Linked DNA regions of Homo sapiens: region 1 is linked to region 2. Evidence: promoter capture Hi-C in 16 types of primary human blood cells and fetal thymus (Javierre and others, 2016). All regions are on one chromosome and are shown on one strand. Each heading gives the region's core, a stretch centred on a gene start or on the middle of the fragment in contact. The rest is flanking DNA. Distances are from core to core; before and after follow the strand shown.

What was found. Contacts are between HindIII fragments. The CHiCAGO score rates a contact against its expected background, and 5 or more counts as called.
Region 1: a contact is called between a fragment that was not itself captured here and the fragment with the promoter of TICAM2 in region 2, in 1 of 17 cell types (M2 macrophages). The highest score is 5.3, in M2 macrophages.

Annotation. Positions count from the first base shown.
Region 1 is chr5:119,329,272-119,334,513 of GRCh38, reverse strand. It overlaps a transcript of TNFAIP8 not described here. Among named protein-coding and RNA genes, the nearest start is that of TNFAIP8, 24 kb to the left of the region's middle. RefSeq lists enhancers at 1,065-1,114, 1,725-1,774, 5,157-5,206, 4,931-5,242. The HindIII fragment of the contact is 898 bases long and covers 1,088-1,985 here.
Region 2 is chr5:115,599,523-115,604,732 of GRCh38, reverse strand. TICAM2 (TIR domain containing adaptor molecule 2) reads left to right here and starts at 2,254. Exons shown (of 2, transcript NM_021649.7): 1 at 2,254-2,636. The region is part of intron 3 of TMED7-TICAM2 (TMED7-TICAM2 readthrough); the gene reads left to right. It overlaps TICAM2-AS1 (TICAM2 antisense RNA 1), which reads right to left and starts at 2,578. Exons shown (of 3, transcript NR_109875.1): 1 at 2,273-2,578; 2 at 1,577-1,687. RefSeq lists a silencer at 2,263-2,762 and enhancers at 2,382-2,904, 2,853-2,932. The HindIII fragment of the contact is 4,479 bases long and covers 1-3,425 here.

The sequences.
Region 1 (5,242 bases), core at 287-2,786, 3.7 Mb before region 2:
ATATTTATTGGCTGCCAAGGGTTCAATAATGGACCAAAAGATTAGCTATACCAACACCCACCTATGTCTTCCAAATTCTAGTTTTTCCCTAGTATTAAATTTAAGCTCCAAAAAATCTGTTGAGCAGAACAATTTTAAGTAAACCTAAGCAAATATTATATATCAACTTGAACAAAAGTGTATAAATACCAATATAACTTTAAGGGCTATTTAAAACACTCTATTCTAATCCTTGATAACTTTTTCAATTTACTTTAAAAATAAAATTAAGTCTACTTGTGGGAGCATTAAGTATGGCTAAAAACAAACCTAAGGTGTTATTTTAAAAGTACAAAATGCTTTATATGTAAGGTAAACCGTTTTTTTTTTTTTTTGGTTGTTAGAGAAAATGGCAACAGCAATATTCAAACAATTATCCAATAAGAGAATAGAAATAAACAGCCTTGTGTTTACGGGTTGCCCCACGGTGTTACCACTGCTACCAGACCACTGGGAACCAGAGGTGTCCTACAGTTAATAAACGCATGGAAAATGTAAAAGAGAAACTCTGAGTGAAAAAGCCATCCAATCTTTTCAGAGTCCCATCTCTGAAACATTTCAAATCTTTATCTGTTTACAAATGAAACTGTCTACATGCAAACTTTAAATGTCATTTTTCCACCCACAATACTCATACCTCTCCCTGCTTAACACTGGTTCCCCACACCCAGAGCCATAGCAAAACAAAACAAAACAGTGATTTGTTGAACACAGTAGCTCTAAAGCCACGACCAAACATTATTTCCTTGAAGACAGCAATACTATGTTAGTCATCTGAACATTTTACCAGATTTCAACAAAGACATTATATCTAAACATATTCTGAAGGCCGTTTTAACTCACCTAGTTTCAGCATTTTCTCCCCGTGTGCAATCAGAAGGACAACTTCACAGTATCTTGGTAGAGTCATACAGACTTGAGGAATGCATGCAACCACCCTGTTGACGTGTACACTATGGAACCTGCATCACCCTCGGGGAGACTCAGTCCTTCTCAAGAATAATTCAAAATAATTTATACTATTCTTTTGAAAAATCTACCATAAGCTTACCACATAAATGCACAGAAGGCACTGGTCAACTACAGTCACTTTGAAAGTTGTCTTGCTTGTTATTCTGGGAGCTAGGTTTCGTCACTTGTAGTGGAATGCATTAGGTAGCCTTTAATTGTGAGTCCAGAGAGGTCTCCACATTCACAACAGGGATGGACTGGTTGCTGCCTGCACTTGCTCCCTGTAAACTACAACTACATAGAAATGCAAGATTACCTGTGACAAGCAAACAGGAGTATATTCAAAATCAAGCAGAAACAGGAAGTCTAACGTTTCAACATGCTAGAAAATAGAAACAGATACTTAGAAAAAAAAAAAAACTAAAAAAAAGGGAGAGGCCCCATTCACAGATGCCTGAAAAAAAGAAAATAAAAAAAACACCTCATTCCTACCTGTATAAACATGAACGTCTATTAATAATACGTATTGCTCAGAGGTGTTTCTGTTCTCAGGAGAACTAAGAATAGAGTTTGGACAATGTTGCTACTTAAAATCATCAGCCTTTTGCTTTGGAAGAGTATATAAGGTTTTCATAATGAATGTAAGTGTGAGTGTATCCAGGCATACACAATACACACATGTACACATACACATACATGCATTTATACAATCTAATAGTTTCTTTAGGAGCCTGTTTATTTACGTGGGCATTTGGCAGTCATTGCCACCCACAAATCTTTCCTTATCCACTCCCCCAAGTAAGATTCAAGTGTACCACTTCTAAGAAGGCTTTTCTTTGGTGATCCCTATTAGGTATGTATGATCTCAATCTCTTCCTTTAGCCCCTACTGCACCTTGGTTGACCTTTCTTGGTAACACTTTTTGGTATCTATCACAGCTGTCCTTATATTATCTTCAGTTGTTTATCTATCTTACTCTCCCTACATGGTAAGCTTCTTGATTTTATTTCTATACTCTGTAGCAATAACACTCTACCTTGAAACTACCAAGCACCTAGCAAAAAAAGTGGAAGGTGATGGACAAACTCTCCAAGGTCTGGTTCAGAGTCTATTTATGCCACCTTCTGGTTGTGTATACGTGCAAGTTATTTAACACCCCTGAATAATTTTGCACTTCCGTAAGATGAGAATAACATCATCAATGTCACAGAATTGCTATTAAGATTTAACGAGAACCACGTGAAGCAAATAACATATTGCCTGATGCACATAGAGTTCTCAAGCAGTAATGAGCATTATTATTGACCTAAATTAAAATCAAATGCCCAATACTAATTTGGGAAGGAGGCCAAAAGAGATACCAAATCAACATCAATTTACAAACATATCTCTGTATTTCTTATTTTCTTTGGCCTACATTATCATGTGACTAACTCATAGCGATATGACACTTATACCTTAGAAACCATATTTTTGTGTTCTTTTGTGTTATCTCCCCAAATTCTGACTGGCCCTTCATGCCATGAAAACATCAGGGACTAAGGGTCAAAGAAGATGTCAAGAGAAAGCTCTTCCTGGAAGTGCAGGACCCTAAATCACAAGGACTTCGCAGGCTGTGACTCACTGGCAATTCCAAGGGTAAGCTACAAAGAGCAGAAATACTGCATCTAAACAGTGGAACAGGCCTCTCACATTTCCCTAAAATGTGACCTCAGTGGTGGCTGCATGGCTAGGTGGTCACTAGGAACCACTCTTTCCAGTTCTGCTAGGGGAGGATGGGGCAGTGCAGTGAGGCTGCAGGAAGACAAGGCTGGAGGAAGAATCCTGCAGTCCTATGTGAAAACAACTGCCTTCATGGCATCAGGGCCCTTACACATGCTCCAGGCCCAGTCGGGGAGGCACCAGCAAGGTCCCAACACCAGGCAAGGGCAGAGGACATGGTAGCCTCATGTATCCAGTGGGCACCTCTACACCCAGCAGGAAACTCCTGGTTTTGGAGAGAGCTCTCCAAAAACAGGAGAACAAAAAGCAAAGCATCTGCACAGACATTTCCCTAAGACACTCCTTTTCTCTCACTTGAGACTAGAATGCCCAAGATATCCCCGGATCTATTCAAAGTGTGCTGTTTAAACCAGTCCCAGCAGTTAGCATCCTGCTTATCCTACTTGATTTGGGAACAAAGAAGAGTCATCACAGACATAGGCTAGAGAGCAGGGAGATTCTCAAGTAAGTATTTGTGAAGCAGTCAAACCTTACAGAATAGCCTTATGTTTAAAAAAAAAAAAAAAAGCTAATATCTCTTTGTAGATATGACTATGCACAGCACTTCCATGCTTCCCTAGGACTTGTGAATTAAGACACTCTAGGTAGGTTCAGGGATCAACATTGTGATGATTGCCCAATGTGGATGCATCACCCATGCTTCAAGGCAAGGAGGAGAGTGGAGGCAGCCAGGACTTCCAGCCCTAGGAGCCCTGCCTGGTGGCCTAGTGGCTGAAGAATCTGTCCAGGCCTAGCTTCGTGAAAGCAATTTGTGCTCAGGAATATAGTTGGCTCTTGGCCTTTTTCTTGGTGGGCACAACTCTGCAGCAGAAGCGCAGGGCTAATCTGTACCCTAACCCCTAACCCCCAGCCCCTGAGAGTGCAACTGGCATTGGCAGTCATGGAGGTAGCCTGGAGTGTCACAGTAATACCAAATAAGCTGTCATTAGGGAAGTCTGCGGCCACCTTATCTGGTACTTCTTCTCTATCTCTCTGCAAACACATGATGGTGGCCATGAGAAAATGAGATCCTTCCCTTCCGTGTGTGTGTACTCCACGTTATCTCGGCATCTCAGAGCAAGAGACTATCACTTACATCATTTCACTCTCCCCACACCCTGCGAAAGTGGGTGGCAATCCCAGTTTCCAAAGCGAGTGTCAGAGCAGAGAGGTTAAGCAGCATATTCAGCAGGACCCTGCACAATAGGACAGGGCTGAGAGGAGAGGCCATGAGGCCTAACCCCTACCCTCCCAGAACAATCTCTAGACACACATGCTCTCGCTGGCCTAGTTTCATCAACTGCTTATCACATACCCCAAGAAAAATATTTCCTTTATAGCTACCCACATCCTTATCAGAAGCACATTCAACAAAATCATCAAAAGAGTGATGACATTTGTGTCTGCATAAAAAGATACTTTCATTTGTTTATTTCATCTAATTCTACAGCCTCAGACAGAACTGGAAATGTCTACAAAACACCTTGGCCTTTATGCTTTGGCATTCCCAGGACGTTCCCTAATCCCTAGTGCTTAATGCCATGGCTGCCAAGATTAATTTCATTTTCTTTCTGTTCAACCTTCCTCTCTTCCCATCAGTCCTCTCTGTACCCTCCTCGTATGCTGAATCCTGCCCATGCTAACTCTTTCAATGGCGTGCCTAAACCATGGCGCTAATTATAGCTTCCCCCTCCTCTATTCAACTTACTCCTCTTTGTCTCTCTCCTCTTCTTCAAAGAGGAAAGAGTCATTGGTGAAGCAGGGAGGAAGGCAGGCTGAGAAGGAATTATTCCAGGAGACTCAGGGACTGAGATAAACAATATGCTCAGAAGCGTTTTCCAGATGGCCTAACAGAGACGGCGGATGGTCAGACTCACTTCTCACATAAAGGAGGCCTTGCACAGCACAGGATTTCCCCAAACCTTGTCTGGACATGGACTTGCATGGTCCATGTCTAGACAAGGCTGGGGAAATCCTGCTGCTAAGCACCTGGAGATGTCCACAGTGTGCATGGTGCTCTCACTGTGGTCCACTCACTCCTCGCCAAAACCCTGGGAGGTGGGCGTCATTATCCTCGGATTACAGGTGTGGAAACCCAGCTCCATAAAGTTAACATATCTGTTCAGCAGAATGCTGGGATATGAGCCTACATCTGCTGGCTTTTTTCTCTTCATATCATATCGCAAAAGCATCCATGATTCACCAGACAGAAAGCACAAAAAGCAAACTGTGTGGAAAATAGGAAGAACACCTTTCTATTTAACAGAAAGGCAAAAGACCTCACAAGGCCAGGTAGAGTAGTGAGTTAAGCAGTGTGAACAGCTGCTGCTGAGGGCCAGCACAGGGGCAGAGACTGCTCAGGTCTGTCATCACCACAGCTGCCATTCACGTTGCCTGCCCAAATGGGTTGCACAAAAGGTAAGTGTGGGAAGGTAGGCCTTTTTATCATGTAGTACTTGTTTCTATGTTTTAAGTATAAATTGTGTAAAAA
Region 2 (5,210 bases), core at 1,005-3,504:
ATGTAGGTAAGGAGAAGACCATACTATTGAACCTCTGTCACTGCTTTGATAGCCACTTGGTACATGGGCCCATTAACCAAGCCCTGGGTTGGCTGGAGAAAAAGACTGACATCTACCAGACAATTCATCTTGTTCCGCTTATTATTGAAAATCTTCTCCACCTGATGCATCCTGTTAGGCACTTATGGGGGATATGAATATCTTCACATGCCCTCACCACTCCAAGAGGGTTATCTGTAAGTCTCACGGACAGATCTTTTACAAATTTTCCATTTTGTTCTTTCCAAGAACCTAAAAGCTGGACAATCCATTAGACACTGCCTGTAAGTCAGTATATTTATCAGTTTGTCATGTCGTCCCCTCCTTTCTTGAATGTGAATAACCAGGTATGTAGCTAGAAATTGCCCACTAGGAAGATTCGCTGTCCCCATTAGCAATGCACGGATCTGAAATTGTCTCACTTCTTTACATATCTGTCTGTCTCCCAGATTAGACTATAAAATCTCCATGAGAACTAGGACTGTGTCTCCTGTTCGCACAATATCCCTAATGTCTAGCACATAGAATATATTCTAAACATATGTGGCGTAAGTGATTGATGCATTTTCTTGAACATTTGGAGAGAAAATGTTAAGCAATTAAACTTGTAACCAATTTAAGATTTTTTTTAGTACATGTGACTGTATTATGAAGAACAATGCAAAATTTGGAGCAATTTACAAGAAGATGGAACAGTTCAAGTAAATTTGCCCATGACACTAGTGACTTCAGGCTCTTTTATGTATGCAACCTAAGTGATGAATAGGGAAGTACGTGTTTATGGAATCTGTCATTGGTGGTATTTCAGTGGGAAAATGTGAAAAGCTCTGATTTTGAAGGGTTGCCAGAGAAAGAGGAACAGGCAGAGGAAACTGAAAGAAGAATTTTTTTTTTTTTTTTTTTTTTTTGAGACGGAGTCTCACTCTGTGGCCCAGGCTGGAGTGCAGTGGCGCGATCTCGGCTCACTGCAAGCTCCGCCTCCCGGGTTCAAGCCATTCTCCTGCCTCACCCTCCCAAGTAGCTGGGACTACAGGCAGCTGCCACCACTCCCGGCTAATTTTTTGTATTTTTTAGTAGAGACGGGGTTTCACCGTGTTAGCCAGGATGGTCTCGATCTCCTGACCTCGTGATTCACCCGCCTCGGCCTCCCAACAGGCCTGAAAGAATTTTAACAAGCAGGATGAGCATAAAGGCAAAGTGGGGTTGTCAACATCAAGGAAACAGAGTGTTGGGAAACAATGGTCGACTTTGTCAATCGCCAAAGAGACTCCCAGGAAAAATGAGGGCAACAAAAGTATCAGTTGGATTTAGGAGGCCACTGCTTACCCAAAGAGTTCAGGTAGAATTGTTGGGAGGTGCAGTGGTTGGAGAATCAACTCCGTGAATAATGAATTGTGTTGACACGGTACATAATACGGTATTTCTGACTACATTGGCGGCATTTCACTAAGTAATTACTACCTGAAGTGCCTACCTTCAGTAAGGCATCCTGTTGTTGGATGGGGAAAGAGAAGGAGGAAATAACTCTTAGCTTTACCTGTACTGTGCTTCTGAGACCCAGGTATGGACCTTCACTCCCAATTTACTATCCATGGTCTCATCCGATGTTCAGTAACTGGGTTCTCCTTTGGCAGGGAGTAGGGATTGCCTGAGAATTAAAAGGGGAGGGGAGATTTCTGAACTGGACCTCTTAGGTTATGACTAGATTGGGTGCCTGAGGCAGCAATGGGGCTTTATAAGGCTTCTTTACGCTTCATTTAACTAATTGCTTTTTTGTTCTCTCTTATTCAGTGGAGTTCCAATCTGTTCGGTTGTGGAGAACGAACCTGAGAAAAAGGATCTTTCGCAGGGTAGTTTTTGGGGGCAGAGGCTGATGTGCTGCACCCCCTAATCAGGGGTATGGTTGGCTGCAGTAGTCAAGTGAGAGGGCCGCAAAGGGAAAGGAAAAGTCGAGACTATCTTAGGGAACCAGGAGAGTCGCTGTACCTCTGAAAGATCTACGGTTTGTCTGGTCTGTAAGGAGCAAACACGGTGGAATTCCTTTCCAGATTTTTCTGGGCCTCGACCTCTGGCTTTTGGGGTACATGCCAAAAAAAAAAAAAAAAAAAAAAGCGCAGGGAGAGTCCACTAGCCTCGGTGACAGTTCCCCATTGCGGTTTCCCCTCCTCCACCCTTCTTTGCGAGCTCCTTCCCTCTGCAGAGAGTTATCCCGCCACATTAACCCCTGACTCACAGCTGGACCGCCCCGGCCCGCAGCGCCACGTCCCGGGTGGGGCCTGCCACGGCAAAGCAGCAGTCCGGCCTCGAGCGGCCCCTCGGGGGCGGCGGGGTGGGCGCCAACAGCAGTCAGGCCTGACAAGCGGCGACCTCCAAGGGTGAGGCCTCTGCGGGCCCCCGACTCACGCGCGTCCGGGCTCTGCAAGCGCGGTGGGGAGCAGGCTGCTGTGGTCGCGGGGACTGGGTTGCGGCGCGCCGCGTACGGGACGGCCCCAAACTCTCGACGCCCGGGGCAAGACGCCCACCCCCTGGGCGCTCTCGCTGGGCCAGAAAGGAAGACAGAAAAGCCGCGGGCTGACTGTGGTGGCGCTCGCCTGCAGGCAAGTACCGGGCGCTAGGGCGGGGGCCGCCGCCGGGGGCGCGGGGTGGGCTGGGGCCAGGCCGCCAGGGGCGCGGGGTGGTCTGGGGGCCAGGCCGCCTGCGCTACCTCCCCAGCCTACCCGACCCGACGGCGCGGGTGCTGGCGCTGTTGTCCCCAGCGGGGCGGGCAGGCCTTTCCGTCACTTGGCTTACTCTGAAGGGAAAATCCACACAGCTGTCTGCCTTTTTGTTTCATTTTGACTAGAAAACCCATTTTCGAAAAGACACCTCAGAACCATAAGCAAATAGCCCAGAGTCTTAAATGCTCTAAAGGCTCTGCATGAGCCCCTGCCAGGCACACAGAGCCAGTGCTGGAGGTTTTGGCATGGGTTTTCCTACTTGGCTTTTTGTGCAAAGCTAATTTGGATAAAAATAATTTGACTGGCAGCTGTGAGCTAGTTTTCAGTGTATTAGGACCTCTCCAGCTTTCCACGGTAGTAAACTTCTTAAAGAAAGTATTTTAAAATATTCTCATATTTATTATTATTTTTTAATTTATCCTTTTAATTTTGAAAAGCAAGGGTGGGAAAGGCTATATGATCTGGAGGTAAAAATACACCATTATATAGAGTTGAAGTGTCATCCCCTGAACCCACATTGCACGTCTACACAGGAGAAGAACTTGTCCTTCTCCAAGTGTTTAGTATTCCTTAGATTAGTGTTTTTCAAACAAGCCTGATGGTAAGACGCATTTGGGACTTTTGTTTAAAATGCATCCCCCCACCTCTGAAGGTTTAATTTGGTAAGCTTGATTTCCAGAATCTGTATTTCTATTTTTTTATTGTTTAATTTAATTTTATGTTCTGGGATACATGTGCAGGACTTGCAGGTTTGTTACATAGATAAACGTGTGCCATGGTGGTTTGCTGCACCTATCAGCCCATCAATCCTTACATTTTAATATTTTGAAGTAGTAGGATGGTTATAAATGGAGTTAAGCAACTCCACTTTATATCTCATTCAAATCAGAAAATAGATAAGCAGGTATAGAATATTGACACCTACATTTGAAGCAAAGTAAATGTGACATGTACGCCTTACCGTATGGAACTTGAAGTATAAACCATGTTTACACTGTTGAATCATGGGCATCTGTGTTGAGTCATTTGTTCCTTATGCTATTCTTAAAATGTATTCATTTAACAAATATCTGCTGTTAAATCTTCTGTCTTTAATCCCCCCTAGACCACACATCCCATTCTAGGTCCCGCTCCCCTACTTTGCTTCTTTTTATAACAAACAAAAATCCTCTTTGAAAGATTTAATCTAAGTCTCCATTTTCATTTTCCCTGTTTCTTCCTACCCCCTCTCATCTGAGGCTTTTTGTCCCCATTACCCCCTGCATGGTCCTGATGTTGCCAATGACTGTCTTGTGAAATCCAGTGTCTGTGCACAGTTCTCATCTTTCCTGACCCCTCAGTAACATTTGATCACTCCCTCCTCAATATTCTTTTTTCTTCACTAATGTTCTTCACTAATATTCTTTCTTCTTCACTTGGCTTCCAGGTCACCATATTCTGCATTTCATTCTGCTTCATTGTGTCTCCAGGCTTCCCCACCACTAAATCTTAGTATGCCACAGAGTTCATTTCTTGGCCATATTTTTCTAGCCATACTTTCCCCCAGGACAATTTGTATCCCAAGCCATATTCCTTGGCTATAAATAATATCTATCAGCTGATGACTTCCAAAATTTTATTCCTAGCTTTAGTTCGCTTCTGAGCTCCAGATGTATGTGTATGTCCAGCTGTTTACTCAGCATCTCCACTTGGAAGTCTGATAGGCATTTAAATTTAGTATGGACAGATAGAACTACTGATGCCAGATTCACCAAGTTCTCCCTCTGTTTCCCCTCAGCTCCCTCCCTTATCTCAATAAACAGCCTCAGTTACTGCCATTCAAGTAGGCCGGAATTCTAGGAATTTACTCTTGACTTCTCTTTTTAGGTCAGACTCCGCATCCAAGCATCCAACAAAATCTGTTGACTCTACCCAGATCTGCCCACCTCTCTCTCCCTCTCTAAGCTAAGCCACAGTCCTCTCCTACCTACATGATTGAGAAGTCTCTGCCTCTGCCCTTGCTCCTCTACAGTCTTTTCCAAATAGCAGTGATTTTTGTCATACATACTCAGAACTTTCATTTCCCTTCAAAACCTTCTGGTGGCTTCTTATCAGAATCACAAAAAAAAAGAAAGAAAAAAAAAAGAAAAGAAAAACAGGCTTACAATGGCTTTAAAGCCCTGTGTGATCTAGTCCCTGACTAGTTCTCTGAACTCATCTCCTGACTTCCCTCTCATCCACTCCACTGTAGTAACACTGATTGTGCTGCTGTTGCCTTTGCCTGCAGCTGGTGTCTGCTAGACCATTGCACACTGTACTCCCTCACTTCTCTGTTAGCATGCTGCCTCAGGGGTTACTGTGCTATTGCAGCAAGATCTCTTTTGCTGCTGGGCCTGTGCGGTAGGTTGCTATTAAATACTGAATGCTACTCTCTAGTATTCCATGAAGCTTATGGAACCTTTAAAACATTGTTGG